Regions from separate parts of the Homo sapiens genome. Here regions 1 and 3 are each linked to region 2. Evidence: promoter capture Hi-C in 16 types of primary human blood cells and fetal thymus (Javierre and others, 2016). All regions are on one chromosome and are shown on one strand. Each heading gives the region's core, a stretch centred on a gene start or on the middle of the fragment in contact. The rest is flanking DNA. Distances are from core to core; before and after follow the strand shown.

Region 1 (2,700 bases), core at 156-2,655, 210 kb after region 2:
GAGCCAAGACTATTCGTTAAAGTCTGGTCCTTGGCCAAACCATGAGGTTGTTTGCCTAGAGTCCTCCTAGTTAGTTCCCTGTGGAACTGTCTTCTCACCTCCCTTTTTGATGCTTTCTACTCTCTTGGCAAACCAGCCCCTTCCTCTATCTCAGCTACCTAACAAGGATGCCCTATGTTCAGATAAGGATCAAGGTTGGAAAGGGTTTGATTAATTCAAACAAGTTTGGAGCAAATGAGAATTTAAGATGTAATTCCTCTCAAGAGAACTCTATTCATGGAGCATTCTAAAATATTGTAAATCCTTCAACAAAATCTATAATAATGGAATTTCATACCTGTAGGAGAGAGAAATTTGGCTGGAACACTCTTCTATTGCCCTCAAATCATACTGTGCTTTGTAATTTAAAGAAATATGAATTTAATGCCAACAACGTGCAGACACCGTTTTTTTTGTTTTGTTTTTTGAGACAAGGTCTCACTCTGTCACCCAGGCTGGACTGTAACCTCCACCTCCCAGGCCCAAGCGATTCTCTTACCTCAGCCTCCTGAGTATCTAGGACTATAGCTGCGTGCCACCATGCCCAGCTAATTTTTAAAGTTTTTGTATAGATAGGGTTTTACCATGTTGCCCAGGCTGGTCTTGAACTCCTGGGCTCAAGCAATCCTCCTGTCTAGGCTTCCCAAATTGCTGGGATTACAAGTATGAGCCACTGCACCCAGCTGACACTGTTTTATCTATACATTACAAAGATTAACTTATTTACTGCTTAAAGCCATATGAGGTAGGTACTTTTATGACCCCCATTTTACAGGAAACTGAGGAACAGAGAAGTAAAGTATCTTTCCCAAGGTCACACAGTTAGTGAGAGGCAAAGCTGGGATTCAAATTCACAGAGTCTGCTTCCAGAGGCCATGCTCCTAACTACTGTGCTATTCCGCTAGCTCTGTTTAATGCTTCTTCACTCCCATCCTCCTACATTCATGTATAGACACTTCAGGGTGGATCTTTTAGAAGTAGATCATTTTGGCCGGGCGCAGTGGCTCACGCCTGTAATCCCAGCACTTTGGGAGGCCAAGGCGGGTCGATCACCTGAGGTCGGGAGTTTGAGACCAGCCTGACCAACGTGGAGAAACCCCGTCTCTACTGAAAATACAAAATTAGCCAGGTGTGGTTGCACATGCCTGTAATCCCAGCTACCTGGGAGGCTGAGGCAGGAGAATCACTTGAACCCGGGAGGCAGAGGTTGTGGTGAGCCACGATCATGCCATTGCACTGCAGCTTGGGCAACAAGAGTGAAACTCTGTCCCAAAAAAAAAAAAAAAAAAAGAAGTAGATCATTTTATTTCACTTGGACCTATTGCTGGATCATAAAAGAAAATCTTGACTTCATGTAGACAAATAGATTTGGTGGGTCTAGATTTATTTATTGATTGATTGATATACACAAAATTAAATTATTTTGAGACAGAGTCTAGCTCTGTTGCCCAGGCTGGAGTGCAGTGGTGCAATCTCAGTTCACTGCAACCTCCATCTCCCAGGTTCAAATGATTCTCGTGCCTCAGCCTCCCGAGTAGCTGGGATTACAGGTGTGTGCCACCATGCCTGGCTAATGTTTTTGTATTTTTAATAGAGGCAGAGTTTCACCATGTTGGCCAGGCTGGTCTCGAACTCCCAGCCTCAAGTTATCCACCCACCTCGGCCTCCCTAAATGTTGAGATTACAGGTGTGAGCCATTGTTCCTGGCCTAAAATGTTTTTAAAGTCAAACTAATATATGTGCTATTAAAAAACATTAAAGACTCAAGGGCTTATAACAACAAGTAATAATCCTCTGCCCCTCACTTTTCTTCTCTGGCCCTCTCTCCAGAGGCCAGAACTTGTAATTCCAATGGTTACCTCCACTTCTGTAAATAATATGCTTATACTTACGTTTTTGATTGATTGATCAACTTCAGACATTATCTACTGACTTCCTGCTATGATCATTGAGAATTTAGTTCCCTTCCAAAACTATACTCACCTTTCTCCTCTCCTGCCAATATATTTAACTAAACATTTTTAGTTCTTCGGTTGCTTACTTTTGAAATTTTAAATAATTAAACCTCTATTTCTTGTCCATTAACCTATAGATAAGATCTCCTAACTCCCTATTTCATTAATGCCTCATCCTTCTTCTTACCTTTTATGCAAACATAATGAAATCTATTTTGGTTTTATTATAGATTGATCCTAAAAGTTAAAAGTCAGTGAAAATTACTTATATTATTGTTTTCAATGGAGAGCCATGTAATGTGCTAAGATTATATTGATTTTCTTGTACAACCTTTTTTCCCTCGAGTTTCAAATGACTTTCCATTTTTTCCTTTTAATTGTTTGCCCTGATCCTTAAGACTTTCCATCATTTCAATCATACTTCTAGCTCATTAAGGCCCCCTTTTCCCATACTCTTCCATTATTCTGCTCACTTTATTCTCTTGCTCAAGACCCTCCAATGATGTCTTGTCCCAGCCAACACAGTAGAGAAGGGCCCTGCTTATTCCTCAGAGATCATCTCCTACCACACTTATTTCACTCCCAACATTCCTGCAACGGTTACTTTCTTCTCACTCTTCAAACACACAAAGCTCATTTCTATAGCTGGACCTTGCATTTGCTGTTTCCTCTTCCTGGAATACATTTCTCCCAGAGTTTCCTATCA
Region 2 (2,700 bases), core at 176-2,675:
CTGCACTCCAGCCTAGGCGACAGAGCGAGACTCCGTCAAAAAAAAAAAAAAAAAAAGTCACCTGAAATCATCAAAAATGGTGTACTCATAGGGAGCCAAGCCCGGGCATGTTGCTTCTTGGCTCCCACAGGTGAATTTGAAGTGGCAATAGAACTTCGTTGATTCTTGTTTTTCTCATTTTAGTTTTACTCTCTATTAAATTGTTATTTTTTACAGTTCATTTATGGATGACAAGTTATTTCCTGTTGGTAGCTGCAATGATTGGGAATTTTGTGATCTCTGTAAACGAATTAATATCTCATAGAGATCTATTTCCTGTTGGATATGAGACAACAGAGAACACAGTTTTTGTCCATTTGTCTTTTTTAAGGTCAAATCGATTAGAAATTTCTTGCCCTCAAGTAAGGAGAACAACTCTGATACCTGGACTGGCAAGCTTTTGTGTTTCTGTGTTTATTTTTCATTTGTGGCTGAACTTGTAGAATTGAGGGTATACACATTCTATCTGTATGTCTATGTATCTGTAATTCAGAAAGTCCTTTATTTCTCATTGTGAGTATGGAATGTTTTCCTGTCTCCAGATGGTATTAATAAATTAGATGGTAAAGGCTCTTTAAAAATAAAGCCTCATTATGGGTTCATTTTCCCTCTCAAACTCTGTAGAACATAACCAGTTTGAAAAGCCTCTAGATTTGGGGGTGTAAAAATTCCATGCAGCTTGAGAGCCATCAGTCATTAAGCCGCTAGTTCCACCCCAAGTCTTGCTGTCCAGAAGCTCAGACAGTCCACTGGGCAGCAAAGAGGCGCTTTAGTAAGTTGAATTAAAGCCACAAACATGGCTGCTCCCTAAGGGAGATAATACTGTGTTAAAAAAAGAGAATTATTTATCTCTTCCCATTTCCTCCGCTAAATGAGGAGGTTAATAGTAAGACCTCCTTAGCCATGAGTGTTTCCGCTGCAGGAAACACCATTCGTGCCGGTTCTGGACTCACCACCCAGCGTGTACCAACGCCCCCAGCACCATCTCCCTGCTAGGCTGACAGACCCCTGGCGGATTTTGACCTCGCAAGAAATGCAAAAGCAACTTTGGGTTGCAGAAGCCAGGCGCCCCGACCTTACCCTCGCTGGAATTCCCGAAGACCTCGGCTGCACCAGCCACCCGGTGTTCGGATGCCAGCACCGCTACGACCAGCAGCTGCAGGAACCCCATTGCTGCCTGGGCCGGGCTGGGCCCACGCCAGGGCTGGGGAGAGGTGCGGGCGTGCGCGCCGGGGCCCCGCAGCCTCGCCCACGCTATCCCGGGGCGCCCGCATCGGGCGCCATCGCCCGCCAGGTGCAGACGCTTCGCACCTGCCAGCTCCGCAGCCGCCGGCGCGCGCCCCGCCGAACTCCTAGCCCCAGCGAGAGGTTTCCTCTTCCGGCACCTGACCCCCAACGCGCGTTCCCGCGCCTCCTCCCGGGCTCTCGCTGCGTCACAGCGGCGGGTCTCTGGGCGCGGGCGGCGCTGGGGCGTTTCCAGGCAGCGCGCGCCTCCTGCCGGCGCGCGGGGAACGCGCAGCCTGCGGTGCTCCCGGGAGCCCCCAGGAAGTCCTGGCTTGAGGCCCGGTCTTGCCCCACTTTTATCTCACCAAGTAGGCAAACCCACTGTGAAAGTACAAAATAACTTTCTGTTGCGGACTAACGTCGCCAGGCTCCTGTTTCCGTGTTTAACGGCCCTTTACAACAGCAAAAAAGAGGAATCAGTTGCTAAAAACACAATTGAAGGTTATTTCCCCCGGTAGCAATTGTCTTCGCTGCTGAGGCTTATGTTAGCATAAAAATGCCAGGAGAATGCTGTTTGTGTAGTGGTTACCGCACTAGTCATAAGCACTACATTTAAAAGTAGTTTCGTTTTCTCTAAGCGAAATATCCTCGAAGACACGGCCTTGGTCTGAACTTCGTCTCAAGTCTCATACCTGAGTGCTGTTTGAGGGACAGTAGTCCATGTGACAGATGGCTCATCGATGATGTGGAATTAGACGCATAGACTTAACGTTATTTGGGGAGGATTGTCTTGCTTTCCTTCCCTGGTTTTAATTTTTTTCACTTATATATTTTGATGAGCAACTTATAGCTTGGAAATTACATGTTCAGTTAGTCCACTACTAAGCTAACAATATATAGCTGTGACCATAATGTGAAGAAGTGTTAAAGACAAAATTATTCAATGATACTTGTTAAAGCACCGAACGAAGACTATTGAGGACTGTCTCAATTGGCATAGGGACCACTGCAACTGGGTCTTGCAGTGGGGAAGAGGGACTGGGCTCAACTCCGAATACAGCGTGGGCAAGAGGGAATTTATAGCCAACCAGCAGTATGGAGTTCAGTGGATGGAAAATTACTAAGAGGAAGCATCAGAGGTAAGGGGCATTTGGTGAAACTGACCTAACAGGACTTCTGAAGACATAACATCACCTGGGGGATGGTGCAGGGTGAGAAAACTGATTAGATATGGAGGAAAGGGGGTTCTTTGCTAAAACTGGATTTTTACAAAGAAGTGCACAGATGGACCTAGCAGAAGATTCAGAAGCCGTACTAGAGTTTGGCCAAGCAAATAATCTTTGTCATAGGCACAATTCTTTCTCTGCTTTCCCACTGCCTGGTCCAAATTTTCACACCTTTGGTAGCACTATCTATTTCTGTAGTGCTTATTCACTC
Region 3 (2,714 bases), core at 72-2,571, 170 kb before region 2:
GTAAAATGAGGACAATAATGGTATCTATCTCATGTGGTCTTTGTGAGGTTTAAATTAGAAGTTACATTTAAGGGGCTTGATGTGGTGCCTGGCATAAAGTGCTTAATAACCTTTCATGTTTTTTGTTTTGTTTTGCTGTTTTTTAGAGAGAGGATCTCACTCTGTCATCCAGGCTGAAGTGCAGTGGTGCAGTCATAGCTCACTGCATCCCAGAATTCCAGGGTCAAGCAATCCTTTGGCTTCAGCCTCTCAAGGAGCTAGGACTACAAGGCATAAACCACCACATCCAACTTCAATAAATATTAGCTATTATTATGATTATGATTATCTGTGAGAAAAGCAGCATGAAATGTCATAAGAAAACCAAGCATCAGAGGTGTTTCTGTCTATGCAATAAGACATGCCAGTGACTGAGCCCACACCAGAGCTGTCTCCAGAGCCTCTGGGCCACCAGCTCTGCCATTTACAGATCAATCCCTTCCATCAACTGTAGCGAATTCTTTTTTTGTTGTTTTTTGTTTTTGTTTTTTGTTTTTTGTTTTAAGATGAGTCTTGCTCTGTCGCCTAGGCTGGAGGGTAGTGGTGCCATCTCAGCTCACTGCAACCTCCGCCTCCCAGGTTAAAGTGATTCTCCTGCCTCAGCCTCTGGAATAGCTGGGATTACAGGCCCCCACCACCATACCCAGCTATTTTTTGTATTTTTAGTAGAGACCAGGTATTGCATGTTGGTCAGGCTGGTCTTGCACTCCTGGCCTCAAGTGATCTACCCGCCTCTGCCTCCCAAAGTTCTGGGATTACAAGCATGAGCCACACTGAGCCAGGGCAAAATTCTTGATAATTATTAAATTTTTCTTTTTCAAGGAATTTGAATTTTTTAAAAAATATGTGTAAGAGAAAGAAATCAATTTTTTTAACAGACACGTTTCAGACATCAGGGAAAAGCAAATTTTGAGACAAAAGAAACAAAATGGCTAAATTTCCAGCCTGGTGCTATAAAACCACCCACAATTGTCACATGAGAACTCTGCTTTCCACAAGCTGACAGCTTTTTATCTCTTCAAAGAAGGTAGCGGATAAAACCCACAGAGAAAACTGCCATCTAACACCAGAGAATGCTGCCATGCTTGTGGTTCCTGATTTTTGGGAAGACATAATACTTTGGTTGGGCAAAACCAGGGAGAATAAATCCAGGGAAAACTTCCTGGAGTCCTTTTTCTCACCCCTGTGATTCCCCCAAGTTTACCTTTGTTTTCTCTCATTTATGAATCTAGTTTGAAATGCAGTAATGTGGGTCTACTTTAGTGCATTATTTCGGATGTATACATCCTGATTACCCAACTAATTAGCATCAATTTGTTTAAGGCAAGAACTCTGAGTTGTACTTTTTGTTTCAGAGTGAACACCTAGATGTGAAGGAAGCTGTTTTGTACCTGTTTTTTGTACCTATAGGCACAGTACCACAGTCTACAGTCCTGATTATTTGTAAGAACTCAATATATAAAAAAGAAAGTATAAGAAATCAATGGGAAAGCATGAGATTATACAAGAAATGATGTTATTTACTTACATGGAGAATACTAGTTTAGCAGTTTTAAGCTATCACGTATCTTAAAAATAAATCCAGGGCCAGGTGCAGTGACTCACGCCTGTAACCCCAGCACTTTGGGAGGCCAAGGTGGAAGGATCACTTGAGGTCAGGAGTTTGAGACCAGTCTAGGCAACATAGCCAGACCCCATCTTAAAAAAAAAAAAATTTAATTTAAAAAATTTTAAAAACTACATCCATAGTCCCAGTTACTCAGAGGCTGAGACAGGAAGATCTCTTTAGCTCAGGAGTTTGAGGCTTCAGTGAGACATGATGGTGCCACTGCACTCCAGCCTGGGTGACACAGTGAGACCTTGTCTCAAAAATAAATTAATTAATTTTATATTTAATGACTTAATGTATTCATCTGAATTCAAAATTCACCAAAATAAAGGGAATTGAATATTTACCATCTTAAGAACAGGGGATACCTATGCTTAGAAATACATATGCATTAATATAAAAACATAAAGCAAATTATGAAGTAAGTTTAATTCTTACAACTTTAAATTTTTATGTAAAAATTCTAACACCAGTAAGGGAAGGGGAAAGGGTGAGTGAAGGGAACAAAAAGCGATATAAATGTGTTTACTACCACTGAACTGCATACTTAAAATGGTAAAGATGGTAAATTATATATGTATTTTTTCTTCTATTTTTAAAATGTAACAAAAAACTCAACTGAAAGTAAAACAACAAAGTGGGAATAGTTTGCAACAAATATTATAGGCAAAAGGTTGGTTATAGGCAAAAAAATAAAAGTAATATAATAGTGAGATATCATTTCTCATGCATTAGATTAGCAAAATAAAAGTTTTTAGTTATTGTAACCAATGCTGTTAGTCAAACAGCCAATATCATATTTTGTACAACCATTTTAATGGCAATGTGGACATATGGAATATAACCTAAAGAAATAATCCTATGTATGAAAAGTGCTTTATTCACAATTATGTTTATCATAGTAATAATAATAAGCATGGAGAAGAAAATAAATATTGAACAGTAGCAAATTAGTGATTACACTGTAGCAGCTGCCAGGGAGTATAGTAAGCAATTCTTACTAAGAATATGTAATAATATGTAAAATGATTTATATGATGACTTTATTTTTATTTTTTTATTTTTT

What was found. The method cuts DNA at HindIII sites, captures the fragments that hold promoters and counts their contacts. A CHiCAGO score of 5 or more calls a contact.
Region 1: a fragment that was not itself captured here is called in contact with the fragment with the promoter of TM7SF3 in region 2 in 2 of 17 cell types (neutrophils and monocytes); the score reaches 7.8 in neutrophils.
Region 3: a contact is called between a fragment that was not itself captured here and the fragment with the promoter of TM7SF3 in region 2, in 12 of 17 cell types (neutrophils, activated CD4 T cells, fetal thymus and 9 more). The highest score is 15.3, in neutrophils.

What each region holds. Positions count from the first base shown.
Region 1 is chr12:27,226,869-27,229,568 of GRCh38, forward strand. No RefSeq gene overlaps it. Among named protein-coding and RNA genes, the nearest start is that of STK38L, 16 kb to the right of the region's middle. The HindIII fragment of the contact is 3,906 bases long and covers 1-2,700 here.
Region 2 is chr12:27,012,959-27,015,658 of GRCh38, forward strand. It overlaps TM7SF3 (transmembrane 7 superfamily member 3), which reads right to left and starts at 1,426. Exons shown (of 12, transcript NM_016551.3): 1 at 1,120-1,426. The coding sequence starts at 1,210. RefSeq lists a silencer at 1,119-1,618. The HindIII fragment of the contact is 5,016 bases long and covers 435-2,700 here.
Region 3 is chr12:26,842,455-26,845,168 of GRCh38, forward strand. No RefSeq gene overlaps it. Among named protein-coding and RNA genes, the nearest start is that of ITPR2, 11 kb to the left of the region's middle. RefSeq lists a silencer at 2,622-2,714. The HindIII fragment of the contact is 5,050 bases long and covers 1-2,714 here.